Regions from separate parts of the Homo sapiens genome. Here region 1 is linked to region 2. The links are contacts of gene promoters, found by promoter capture Hi-C in human tissues and cell types (Jung and others, 2019). All regions are on one chromosome and are shown on one strand. The core of a region is centred on a gene start or on the middle of the fragment in contact, and the rest is flanking DNA. Distances in the headings are between cores, read along the strand shown.

Region 1 (6,139 bases), core at 175-2,674, 45 kb before region 2:
ATAGGCATTCCCCGCCCAGCGCCCCCCGCGCCCCCCTCCCCCCGTCCCCGGCCCAGGAAGATGTAATGTTTTAAGACTTTTTAGGATCGCACTTATTCAAACCCCTGCGCATCCTCCCCATGTCGTGAGTTCACCCGTCTTAGCCCCGAATCCAACCCTGGTATAGCTGTCGGGAATAAAGTTTTTCCTTGATGCGGACGCGAGCTTCTACTTCTTGGGAGAGGAGTGGAGAGAGAATAGCCCAGATGAGTGTCTGTGGGGAACTTGAGGTGGGAGGGTTAAGGGACTAGATTTGCACTCTCCTCCCGGGAGATGGGACCATTGCAGCCACTAAAGGGAACAGAGTGGTGGTGACCGAGCTCCAGGCAGCAGAGCCGAGCTCCAGGCAGCAGAACCGGCGGACCGCGAGAGCCAGGGCAAGGTCTCCGCGTGTGCACACTTCGGGGAAGGGCAGGGGCACGTGAGCATCCCCGCGGCTCGCTCGCTCTCGCTTTCGGTGGCTTCTCCTCTCCTTCTTGGCTCACGGGCTCTGTCCCGGGTCGCTCCCTAGCCACGCGCCGCCCTCCAGGAATCTCCCTCGTCTTCTCCTGTCTCTCCCGCGCACTCCTCAGCCCAGTACCAGCTCCAAATGCAGGTCGTGCCATCTCCGCCCAGTGCAGCCGTCAGAGTCCCGGTCTCCGCTCCCCAGGCTGCTGTCCCCTGTCTTGGCTGCCTCGGGCTATGTCCACGGCCGGGCACCCAGCACCCCAGCTCGTCCGCCTCGGTCAGCGCTTAGCCTTGCGGTCTCCCCTGGCTCGTTTCCCTCGGTCTCCACGCCAGCCCGCCCCGCTTGCTCCCGCTTCGCTGCACTCCTTGCTCCTCAGTCTGGGCTCCGGGTCCTGCCCCAGTCTTCCTCCGGGGGGTTCCGTCCTCAACACGCCCCTAGGGCCCCCAGCAGTCCGGCCTTGGTACCCTCTCCCCGTCCGGATCCGCAGGGTCCCCCCCGCGCGGGGTCCGCCCTCAGGTCCGCGCCGCTCTCCCCGGGTCCGCCCCTCGCGCCCGCTCCCTCCCTGCTCGCCCTTCCCCTGGCTCCGTCCGCAACCGCCCGGTCCGGGGCGCTTTCACTCACCCTCGCTCGGCGCGGGCAGCAGCAGCAACAGCAGCGGCAGCAGGAGCCGGGGCCAGAGCGGGGCGGGCGGGCGGCGCGGAGACGCGGCGCGCTGCACAGCCATGGGGCTCTCGGTCAGCTCGGCTCGGCGACGCGCGGCTCCCGGGCCTCTCGCGGCTCACAGCGTCCCGCGGGGCCGGCGCCGGGGCCGGGGCTGGGGCTCCGGCCGGGGCCGAGCCCAGGCGGTGGGGGACTGGGGCCGCATGCCTGCTCAGCAGCGCGGGGGGCGCAGGGGGAGCGCCGCTTGCGCCATCTTGCACCCACCCGGGCGATCTGTCAGCCTCGCCCGGGGTGCGCGCTCCACACTCGCACCGCTCGCGGCCGCCCCGCCCTCCTCCCCAGCCCGCCGCCCCCCTCCTCTCTGCTCCCGGTCCCCTCCCCCAGCCCCCTCTCCCCGGAGGCCCGGTCTGGGGAACAAAAGAGCCGGCGAGCGCTTTAAGCGGCCGGACATTCCCGGCTGCGCGGCGGACGCGCCCCCTGCGCTTTGAACTGTGGCTGGAGCGGCCGGCGCCGTCCCGGGCTGCAGCCGGGTATCCCCTCCCCGCGGGCCAGCCGGGGACCTGGGGGGCTGAGGAAGTGGACACCAGCGGACTGGGGAGTGGGTCCGGGCTGCGGAAAGACACACAGCTGCGGGATTTGCTCTGACCCACTCTTTCTGCTGCGCCCTCCTCCAAGTCCATATTTTAGAGATAATTCTCTAAAAAGCTGCGTAAAGTTGTCAAAGATTCAGTTTTCCATGGATTTCTGGTCCTTCCACTCAAAGGATAGATCCTGTAGCTGCAAGCTTGGCTTCTCTGGACCGAGGAGTCCTGGCGCTCCGCTGGGGAGGATTGCCTGGAGAGAGCAGACCCAGCAGCAGGACAATGAGAGCTCTAAAGGGGCCTGGCTTCCGACCTGGGTTCTGCCTGCTGCCTAGCCCAGTCACTCTCACTGAGCTCATCTGAAAGATGAAAATAATCTTATCTCTCCTGTTCATCCCTAGAGACCTTTAAACCGCAGAGGTCCTGACAAATGACCTGGTAACTGGAAAAGCACATAGAAAGTTAAAATTCCCAGTAACGTTTCTGTGCCACAAAGAAGGCCCTCAATCGTTCATGTCAGAGAACATATAAGGAGACAACAGAGGTCCCACGTGAGAATGTTACAGAAGATAAGCATGTCTTTTAGCAGAGACATACCCATACTAGCCCTCAGAGATCTTGAATCTCAGCCACTCTCTATTAAATGGTCTTCTGTTGAGTCCAGCATGATGGACTAGTCCATCAAAATTATTGAGCAGCTACTAAGTTCTAGGAGCTAGAGAATTAAAGCTGGCAGGCTAGGCTTAGTGGCTCACACCTGTAATCCCAGCACTTTGGGAGGCCGAGGTGGGCAGATCACTTGAACCCAGGAGTTCAAAACCAGCCTGGGCAACATGGTGAAAACCTGTCTCTACAAAAAATACAAACATTAGCCAAGCATGGCGGTGCATGCCTGGAGTCCCACTGTATTCCAGCCTGGGCAACACAGACCCTGTCTCAATAAATAAATAAATAATAAAAGTTGGCCTAATGTAGCTATTTGCTCCTTTGGCACTGGACTGGGATGGCAGAGGAAAAACTAAGTCTTTCTTTTGATACCAACTCTGGAACTTTGGGACCATGTACGAAACTAACGGTGGCTCACGCCTGTAATCCCAGCACTTTGGGAAGCTGAGGCGGGTGGATTACCTGATGTCAGGAGTTCGAGACCAGCCTGACCAATGTGATGAAACACCATCTCTACTAAAAATACAAAAAAATTAGCCGGGCGTGGTGGCAGGCGCCTGTAATCCCAGCTACTCGGGAGGCTGAGGCAGGAAAATAGCTTGAACCCGGGAGGCAAACGTTGCAGTGAGCTGAGATTGCACCATTGCACTCCAGCCTGGGCGACAGAGCAAGACTCCGTCTCGAAACAAACAAACAAACAAAAAACTAACTTTGATACGGATAAGTAAGGAAGTACAGGCCTCCAGAAATCAGAGTGCCTGTAGATGGACAGGTTTACTAATGATGAGGTTGGCATAGCTCAGGACTGTTCACTCTAGGGCAGCTACTGGAAGATGAGCCTGAGAAGCAGGACATGAGGCATGTGAACAGCGGGAAGCAATGGAAAAATTCTAGGTGGAGGACTCCAATGTGCCAAAGCCCTATTGGATTTCATTGTGAGAAAGGGTGGGAGTGGTGGTCTACTGGCCTTAGGAAAGGGAGGGGAAGGGCCCTCCCTGGGCCTAAAATCCTGGAACTCCCTCCTGCAGGGCTTGAATTCTCAACAACCCCTTCTTGGCTTGTCCTGGACTCTGAAGAGGTCAAATTGGTCTCTTGAATTGCTGTCATTTTAAATTCATTTTGACAAGTGTTTAATTCTTCTTTATCACAACCCTTGGTCTGAGAGTGATATGCAAATAATGGCTATTCTGCCGAGTGCAAAATGTGCAGTATCTCTCTGTCTGATCTGTCAATTAACTCTGGGTCTGGCCCACCACTTTGGGGGTGGTCCTGAGCAAAGCAGCCTCTAGCTCTTGATTCCCTCCAATAGAAAGCATGTTCCGGGCTCTGTAAAGATCTTAGCAGACAGCAGCTGCCAACTGTGATGCCAAGATGTGTGTGGGGTGTGAGTGTGGAGTTTTGTGTGTGAGACTGTGTGCACATTTGCATTAACGGACAGACACAAGGGTGTTTGTGAAGGCAAAGTATGCATGTGCGGGTCTCTGAGCTTGTACACACAGTGCACGTGTGTGTGATTGTGTGGCCATGAGTAATTTTGGTGACCAGAGTTATACAGGAGAATAGTTGTGGAGCCCAAATCTCTGGAGTTGTTCCCTCTTTCCTGCACCCAAAAAAGTTCAGAGAAATGTGTGCCCAGATGGAAAGAGATCCCCAGAGAGTCTAAGGAAGTGCCATCAAAGGACACATCTTTCCTAAGTTTACGTCTTTTTCCTAAGTGCCTGTTGAGGGAGGAAGATGGTTTAGTTCTTTCCCATGACCACCTGCTTTTTACCCTCAAAAACCACCATTTTGAGCCGGGCGCAGGGGCTTATGCCTGTAATTCCAGCACTTTGGGAGGCCAAGGCGGGCAGATTACCTGAGGTCAGGAGTTTGAGACCAGCCTGGCTAACATGGTGAAACCCCGTCTCTACTAAAAATACAAAAATTAGCCGGGTGTGGTGGTGCATGCCTGTAATCCCAGCTATTCGGGGGGCTGAGGCAGGAGAATCACTTGAACCCGGGAGGCAGAGGTTGCAGTGAGCCGAGATCATGCCACTGCACTCCAGCCTAGGCGACAAAGTGAGATTAGTCTGAAAAAACAAACAAACAAACAAACAAACAAACAAAACACTATTTTGGGCCAAGAGGCAGTGGCTCATGCTTGTAATCGAGCACTTTTCGAAGCTGGGGCAGGAGGATGGTTTTAGCCCAGGAGTTCGAGACCAGTCTGGGTAAGATAACGAGACCACATCTCTATAACAAAAATTTTTTTTAATATTAGCCAGGCATGGTGGCATGTGCCTGTAGTCCCAGCTACTAGGGAGGCTACAGTGACAAGACTGCTTGAACCCAGGAAGTTGAGTCTGCAGTGAGCTGTGATTGTGCCACTGCACTCCAGCCTGGGCGACAGAGAGATCCCATCTCAAAAACAACAACAACATCATTTCCCATCACAGTAAGAAATAAAATCCCTAGGGCACAAAGGCTGAGGAAATTCTAGTCATGGTCAATGGTTCCAAAAGAGAATTCCACATTTCTGGAAAATAGTTTATTAATTCATTATAAGGACAGATACATGAATCAATGCCTTAGCTTAACACTAAAGAGTATCATATTTGTAAGGAGAAAAAAAAAACGCTGGAAGGATAATTAAATAGTACAGCATAAACTAAATACAGACAAATAAATGAGCAAGTACTGATTACACTTGTCATGCATCAAGAAAAGGAAGATTTTTAATTGAGACTCAGAAAACTTAAGGCATCAATGGTAGGTGACAAAGGGATTAATACCCTGTAAAAGGCCAATAGATTCTTTTCTAATAAAAATACTGCTACAAAGACACAAACCTAACACTTCCAAATTACCCAGAGCCCAAATCATATATAGTGCTAGTGAGAAATGGCCACTTTCTTATCAACTGTGAGTTATAGGCAGATACCAGATTTATTACTTATTTGCTTTTGAGAAACAATTTTCCACCCAACCTAATGGGTTATAAATTGTCTCATTTGCAGCTATTTAATTTAAACCAGAACCTCAGTGCCTGTTAAACAAGAACATGAAAAATGACTATGTGGTATAATGCTAAGAGCCTACTGTTAAAACAGCCATTTAATTCAGGGCAGTTTTTTTTTCTTCTTTAAAAAAAAAAAATCAAACCAGCAAAATAAAATGAGGCTTTTGACCTTCAGAGCAATGATGAAACATACACAGTGGTGTTAGCCACAGCAGCGCTGAATGCTACAGAAATACTACAAGTGACAATTCTGTCTTTAACGAGATACAAAACCAACATTAATAATCTTTAGTGTTATCATAGGCTGGCTGAAGGAGGGGGAGGAGGTGGAAACGTAGGTGCAGACATCAACAGTGAGTGACACCCGAGTATAATAAACACAGATGCTTTCAGGGTTTGAGGAAGCCGCAACTGTGCTGAGAGACATTCCACCATTTAAAAAAAAAAAAAAAAAAAAGGAAAAATGGACTGGTTATTTCGAATTTGGCCCAGAAGGCAGAGTTAACTCTTGATGTGCCAATCAGACATCATTAGGGAGTAAAGACCCTAACATTCTATGCTCCTATGAGAGGGCTGAGGTGAAAAACCAAATAAATGACATTGTTTTCACTACACAGAAAATAGAAGTCAAGCTTGTCCCTGTGCGGCAGGTGAACAGAAAATGACTTGAGGATTCAATTTAAAGAAAAAACAAACTGAAATGAGCTACCCCTTTTCCTGTGCAAAGACCTCCTTGCCAGCACCCCA
Region 2 (6,211 bases), core at 834-3,333:
CTTCCCCAGCACTTCAGGGGACTTGTCAGTTTCCCCCTCCACCAGACTGAAAGCTTTGCACCAGGGATCAGGTCTGCCTCCTTATTTACTATATTCTAGGCACTAGGCACAAGCTAGCCTATAAAAGGTGCTCCATAAATATTTGTTGAACGAATGAATGACCTCAGTACAGATCAGGGTGGCTAGTCATGACTCGACTGGAGTGTCCCCCGGCCTGCTGAGATTTGGAGGACCAGGGCAAGCTGTTGTAGCCACTCACACTGCAACCAAGAGACGCCGCAACTCGGTCCCTCGCCTGCTTTGTGCGTTCGGGAGCAGGGAGAGGCCAGGGAAGCTGGGTCCCTCGCGGCAGGTCCTAAAGGTATTGAATAATGCGCCGGTGCGGTTCCCAGCCCTGATGCCGTTTAGCTGGGTGACCCTGAGCTCGTTCCAGGAGCCCTAGGAATAGCGGAAGGTGGGGCAGGGGAACTATTCCTTAATCCCCTGAGCTCTGGGAAGACAGACCTCTCTCTGACACTTCCCCGCCCCTTTCACCTGACAAGCCAGGGCCTCCAGCTCCTCTGGCCCAGCAGCCGAGACCCAGCCTCGCGGCGGCCTCCAGCTTAATCCGCTGTTGGGGCTGGAAAGGGGCGTGTCTTTGTAGGGACAGAAGGGGTCCGAGGAGTTCCCGGCACTTTCCCACCCGCTGTTTGGTTTTCCTGGAGATGGGCCTGGGGCTGGCCAGGCGGAGGCTCCTTCCCCCCGCCTCCCTCCCACGTGGCCTGGCTGAGTCTCTCTGGAAAGCCGCAGCAGCTGGAGAGAAATCCCCCTCCCCACCCCCACCTCCAAGTCCCTCCCCGACTCTCCCCGGACACATCCTCAGCTCCCCCCTCCGCGGGGAAGGCAAGAACTAGGCGAACAAAGCGGCCAGCCCATCCCCCTCCCAGCCCTGCCACCTACACTCCCCATGAGCCGCCCCCAAACGCACACCGGACAGGAAGCGACAGAGCTGTGGGTGGAAGCCGCAGCCCTAGACACACACCCTTGGGGACTTCGCTATCCCCTCCCCAGCCCTTTCTCCAGCTTGGACAACTCTGACTTACCCCGTACCCACTCCGCACTGGGCTGCGGACTGGATGAGGCCCTGCTGACCTCGTCCACGCTTCCCTGGTCGGTCCCTGGGGGGTGGGGCCGGGGTGACACGCGTCCCATCGTGAGAACAAGCGCTGGACATGTCCACGAAAGCAAATGGTTTCCTGCCCCCTCCCCCAGTCCACTGCTGGCCACAGGTTTTGGGGAGCAACACCTCCCTCTACCCCTCTCTAACCGGCCCCAGGGACCACACCCACTGGGCAAAGTTGAGTGTTGTTTTATCACCACCACCCCCAGTCAAACGGGATCCATCGCTCTGTCCCCCACTATGGGCAAGGACACTTCCCAAATGCCAAGGCCAAATATTAGCTCAGCCCCATAAACACAATTGCACACGCACCCGACCCAAATGGAGGTGCAGACACAACCCCAGTTCCCTCCTCTTTTACACACACTCTCAACCCAAGACACGCGCAGGCAAGGCAGAGCCCGCCCCGCGAAAGCCACCGACACCGCAGCTACCCGCCCCGCCGATGCCACGCCGCGACCATGGCACGCACTGCGGACACGACAGGAGCACTCCCAACACACACACACACACACACACACACACACACACACACGACTCCAGACTCTGCGAACCAAAGGCACACACCCACTGCGGACAAGCACGCCCCACAAACGCCCCCCGGCCGCAGCTCGCAGACCCCCGCGCAGGCATCGCGGGCACCTGGACGCGCAGCCCCCGCACTTGCTCGGGACTCCGGCTTGAGCCAGCCCCGCAGCCCGATGCAGACCAGGGCGCGGGCGCACCAGCACTCCGCAGTCGCTCCTGCCTCTCCGGGCGCCCGCCCTTACCGCGCGCGGCCAACAGGCAGAAGGTCAACGCGAGGAGCCCGCGGCCGCGGCCGGCGTCCCCCCGCGCCATGGGGCTGGGCTCGGGCCGCCGCCGCCGCCGCCGCCTCCCCGTGCTTCGGCCGCCGCCGCGGGGGGAGAGCGCGCCGGGCGTCAGTGGCCCGGGGAGGCGCGGCGCCGCGGGCGGGGGCGCGGCCTCGGGGGCCCGGGCCCGAGCTGGGGCCGGCGCGGGGGCCAGGGCCGCTGCCGCCTCACCCGCCCCTCCATCGCCATCTTGGGCGAGCGGCCCGGGAGGGGGCGCCCGGCGAGTGTGGCCACCCTGGCCCCGCCGGGGACCCTGCGCCCGCGCGCCACGGCCCTGCGCCTCGCGGGGGCTCCTCTCGGCCCGGGTCTGTGTCCCGGTGCCTCGCCCTCTCCGGGTCGCCGCGGGCCCCCGTGAGGCCGCCTGTTGCTGGGTCTGTCTCTTAGTCTCCCCGTCTCTGAGTCTTCTGGTCTCTCTGCCTCAGCGTCTCTATTTCTTCTCCCTGTTGCTGCCTCGGGGTCTCCACCTCCGTTCCAGGCTCAGGGGAGGCAGATTCAGGGCCACGGTCTTTGTCCAGATGGCCCCCTTGCCACCCGAGCCCAGTCCATTCCAGCCCAGGTCCTGGCCTGAATGCTGGTTCGCTTCTCCACACGTTGCGCCAGCCCACCTGCGGAGATCTTGATAGTCCTATCTGCCATCCCAAACCAAGGGCTTCTCTTGGCCTCCTTCCCTTGCTCTGGCAGTAACTAACACAGGCAGGACACTTTTACACTACCTTCAAGCACTACCATATTCAGATGTCGCCGCATGGGGAAACTGAGGCTGGAGAAGGTGAAGTGACTTGCCCAAGGACAGGAGGCTAGGGAGCAGCAGATACAGGACCTGAACCTTGGTTTTCTGACTTCGGAAGGTCATCTCCACTCCCTCACCCTGCCTCTGCTGTCCAGCATTTACTGAAGTACCCTTTTTCTCATTCTTCAACGGTACTTTCTCTAACCTACCTAGCCAGACTGTTTGCCTCAGTATCCCGCAAATATTTCTTGTTCTACAGCCAAGGGTTCAATTGTCAGGCTAGGGTGGGGAAAAGAGTACAGATTCAATGACCTAGTTAAGGTCCTTTCCAACTCCAAGATGCCATAGTTCTTCCCTTCCCTGTGTCTCTAAGTGTTCCTGTGACTTAGAGCCATCTTGTCTCTACACCTGTCTGTTGTCAGTTAACCCTCAATAATCACTGGCGCTTTGCATATCTAACAGGCCTGGCGTTTATTCATTCATTGCCACGCCCCATCTTCACTTGCCCTATCAGCAGCATTTGACTTAGTGAATCACTCCCTCTTCCTTGAAACACTTGCTTCCCTTAGTGATCTCATCTGGTCCTCAAGGCTTTAAAGAGCATCTTTATGCTAATGATGCCCAAATGTATACTTTCAGCCTAGACCATCTTTCCTGAACCCTGGACTTCTGTATCCAGCCATCCAGGCCCCAGTTCCTTTAGCTGTCTAGTAGACAAACTCATCCTGATCTTTTCTATCAATCTTTCTCCTCCCACAGTCTTCCTCATCTCAGTTCCTTTCCTGTTGCCCAGGTCAAAAATGTAGAGGCCAGGCTTGGTGGCTTACGCCTGTAATCCCAGCACTTTGGGAGGCCGAGGTGGGAGGATCGCTTGAGGCCAGGAGTTCAAGACCAACCTGGCCAGCATAGCGAGACCCCCATTTCTATTAAAAAAAAATGTAGAGTCATCTCCTACTCTTCATGTTCAGATGCTTCACCCTCCACTTTCTCACTGTGGCCTTGGTCCAAGACCCGTCGCCTCTCACCTGGATTGTCACAGCAAACTCCTCACTGATCTTTTTCTGTCCTTGTCCTCCTTGAGTGTTTTCTCAATACAGCAGCCAGAGTGCTCCTGTTAAAATGAGATCATGCCACTTCTCTGCTAGAAACCCACCAGCGGCTCCTATGTCAGAGCAAAAGCCAAAGTCCTTATTGTGACCCACAAGGCCTATCTGATCTGTAGGCTTGCTCTACCTCTCTGACCTCCCCTTCGACACCACCCCCTGTGCTCACCACCTCTCCAGCCACACCATCCTCCTTGCTGTAACTTGATCGCGGGCAGCCTCCTCCCCTCCAGCCTCAAGACCTTTGTCCGGCCAGTGCAAGTCTAGAGATCTGTTCCCTCATACTGGATACCATAAAGGCTTTCTCACAGCCTCACCCCCTACTCTTCCTATCCTCCTTCCCTGCTGTCTATTCTTGTCTTTAACTGTCACTTTCTTTTTTATTTTATTTTCTTTCTTTTTCTCTTCTTTTTTTTTTTTTTTTGAGACAGAGTCTTACTCTGTCCCCCAGGCTGGAGGGCAGTGGCTCACTGCAACCTCCGCCTCCTGGGTTCAAGTGATTCTTGGGTCTCAGCCTCTCAAGTAGCTAGGACTACATGCCCAGCTAACTTTTTGTACTTTTAATAGAGACGGGGTTTCATCATTTGGTCAGGCTGGTCTCGAACTCCTGACCTCAAGTGATCCACCTGCCTTGGATCCCAAAGTGTTGGGATTACAGGCGTGAGCCAGCACGCCTGGCCAACACTTGTCACTTTCTTTTTTTCTTTCTTTTTTTTTTTGAGATAGAGTCTTGCTCTGTCGCCCAGGCTGGAGTGCAGTGACACGATCTCAGCGCAGTGCAACCTCCGCCTCCTGGTTTCAAGAGATTCTCCTGCCTCAGCCTCCCGAGTAGCTGTGACTACAGGTGCCTGCCACCATGCCCGACTAATTTTTTGTATTTTTAGTAGAGACGGGGTTTCACCATGTTGGCCAAGCTAGTCTTGAACTCCTGACCTCAGGTGATCCACCTGCCTCGGCCTTCCAAAGTGCTGGGATTACAGGCATGAGCCACTGCGCCCGGCCAACACTTGTAACTTACTAATATGCTCTACATTTTACTTATTTTCGATCTGTTCCCCCACCCCTCACAATCACAATGTGTGCTTCATGAGGACAGGGATTTTTGTTTGCTAGGTTCACTGCTGAATGCTAAGCACCTAAATCAGTATCTCACACTGTGTAGGTGCCAGGGGACCTGGATAAAAAATACAAGTCCCTGCCCACAAGGATAGTAGTGTCCTAAGTGGCATGGGGTGGCAGGGAGGATGGAACAAAAGGAGGAGGGATTTACCGTGTGTGGGGTGGGGGGACATGGAGGTTGAGAAGGAAGGCTTCACAGAACTATTGATTGGACAAGTGTGATACGGTCTGTGATGGGGTACAGGGAGGAGGAGCACTCGGGCCAGACCTGTGGATGTTTGACATGGGTCTGGACAATTTAAAAGGCTAGAACTGACAGGGTGGTCAAGAAACTCCCTCTGCAGAGGCCCTGGGCTGTGAGAGCACAGGGAAGTGTGCTCTTCCTGCCTGGAAATGGCATATCCAATCATTGATTCAAGGGGTACCTGTTATGGGTCAGGCCCTGCTCTGGGCACTGGGAGCAGACTGGCGAACAAGAGGAATCTTGCCTGAATGGTGCTTAGGCTACTGAGGGAGATGGACAAGTGTGATACAGTCTGTGATGGGGTACAGGGAAGAGGGGCACTCGGGCCAGACCTGGGGGAAGCAGAGAAGTCTTACAGGAAAGACAATGTAAGCAGAGTGCAGGAGGTGTGGACTGGGCAGGGGAGCAGGGGCAGGACATGAAGCCAAACAGGGAGGCCAGGGCCAGATGGACTGGCCTCATATGTTATCTAGAAAGCAATTGATTTGTCAATTGAATGAATGAACAAGGTGTTGCCATATAGAGAGACTAATTCTACCAGCCACATACAAAAATCTAATTAATTTATCTATATTCATATCTCACTACATGGGCTCTGGGTAGGGAGTAAATGTGAGAGGAGGAGGGATAGAGTTACAGGTTCAGGCCAGCCAAGCCCAGCAGGAGTAAGAACCATAGTTCTTGTCCTGCCTTGGTTACAGACTTGCTGCATGACCTTGGGCAACTTCCATCCTCTCTCTGGGCCTCAGTTTCATCACTGAGACAAAAGGGTTGGGGTATGATGCACATTTCTAACCAGTTCCAAAGAGTTCACAACATTAAAAGTGGATATAGCACCTGTTTTAATGTGTTTTTAAAAATCAATCAGGCTGGGCATGGTGGCTGGCACATGCCTGTAATCCCAGCACTTTGGAAGGCTGAGGCGAGCGGATCACCTGAGGTCAGGAGTTCGACACCAGCCTGACCAATATGATGAAACCCCGTCTCTACTAAAAATACAAAAAT

What was found. The method cuts DNA at HindIII sites, captures the fragments that hold promoters and counts their contacts. A contact is called where the count stands out against the background at its distance.
Region 1: the fragment with the promoter of IGDCC3 here is called in contact with the fragment with the promoter of IGDCC4 in region 2 in 1 of the 25 tissues and cell types used here (mesendoderm cells).

The regions. Positions count from the first base shown.
Region 1 is chr15:65,376,578-65,382,716 of GRCh38, forward strand. It overlaps IGDCC3 (immunoglobulin superfamily DCC subclass member 3), which reads right to left and starts at 1,425. Exons shown (of 14, transcript NM_004884.4): 1 at 1,109-1,425. The coding sequence starts at 1,211. IGDCC4 (immunoglobulin superfamily DCC subclass member 4) reads right to left here. Exons shown (of 20, transcript NM_020962.3): 20 at 4,907-6,139. The HindIII fragment of the contact is 8,726 bases long and covers 1-3,977 here.
Region 2 is chr15:65,420,864-65,427,074 of GRCh38, forward strand. It overlaps IGDCC4 (immunoglobulin superfamily DCC subclass member 4), which reads right to left and starts at 2,084. Exons shown (of 20, transcript NM_020962.3): 1 at 1,930-2,084. The coding sequence starts at 1,999. RefSeq lists enhancers at 987-1,096, 1,117-1,386, 2,362-2,896. The HindIII fragment of the contact is 12,230 bases long and covers 1-6,211 here.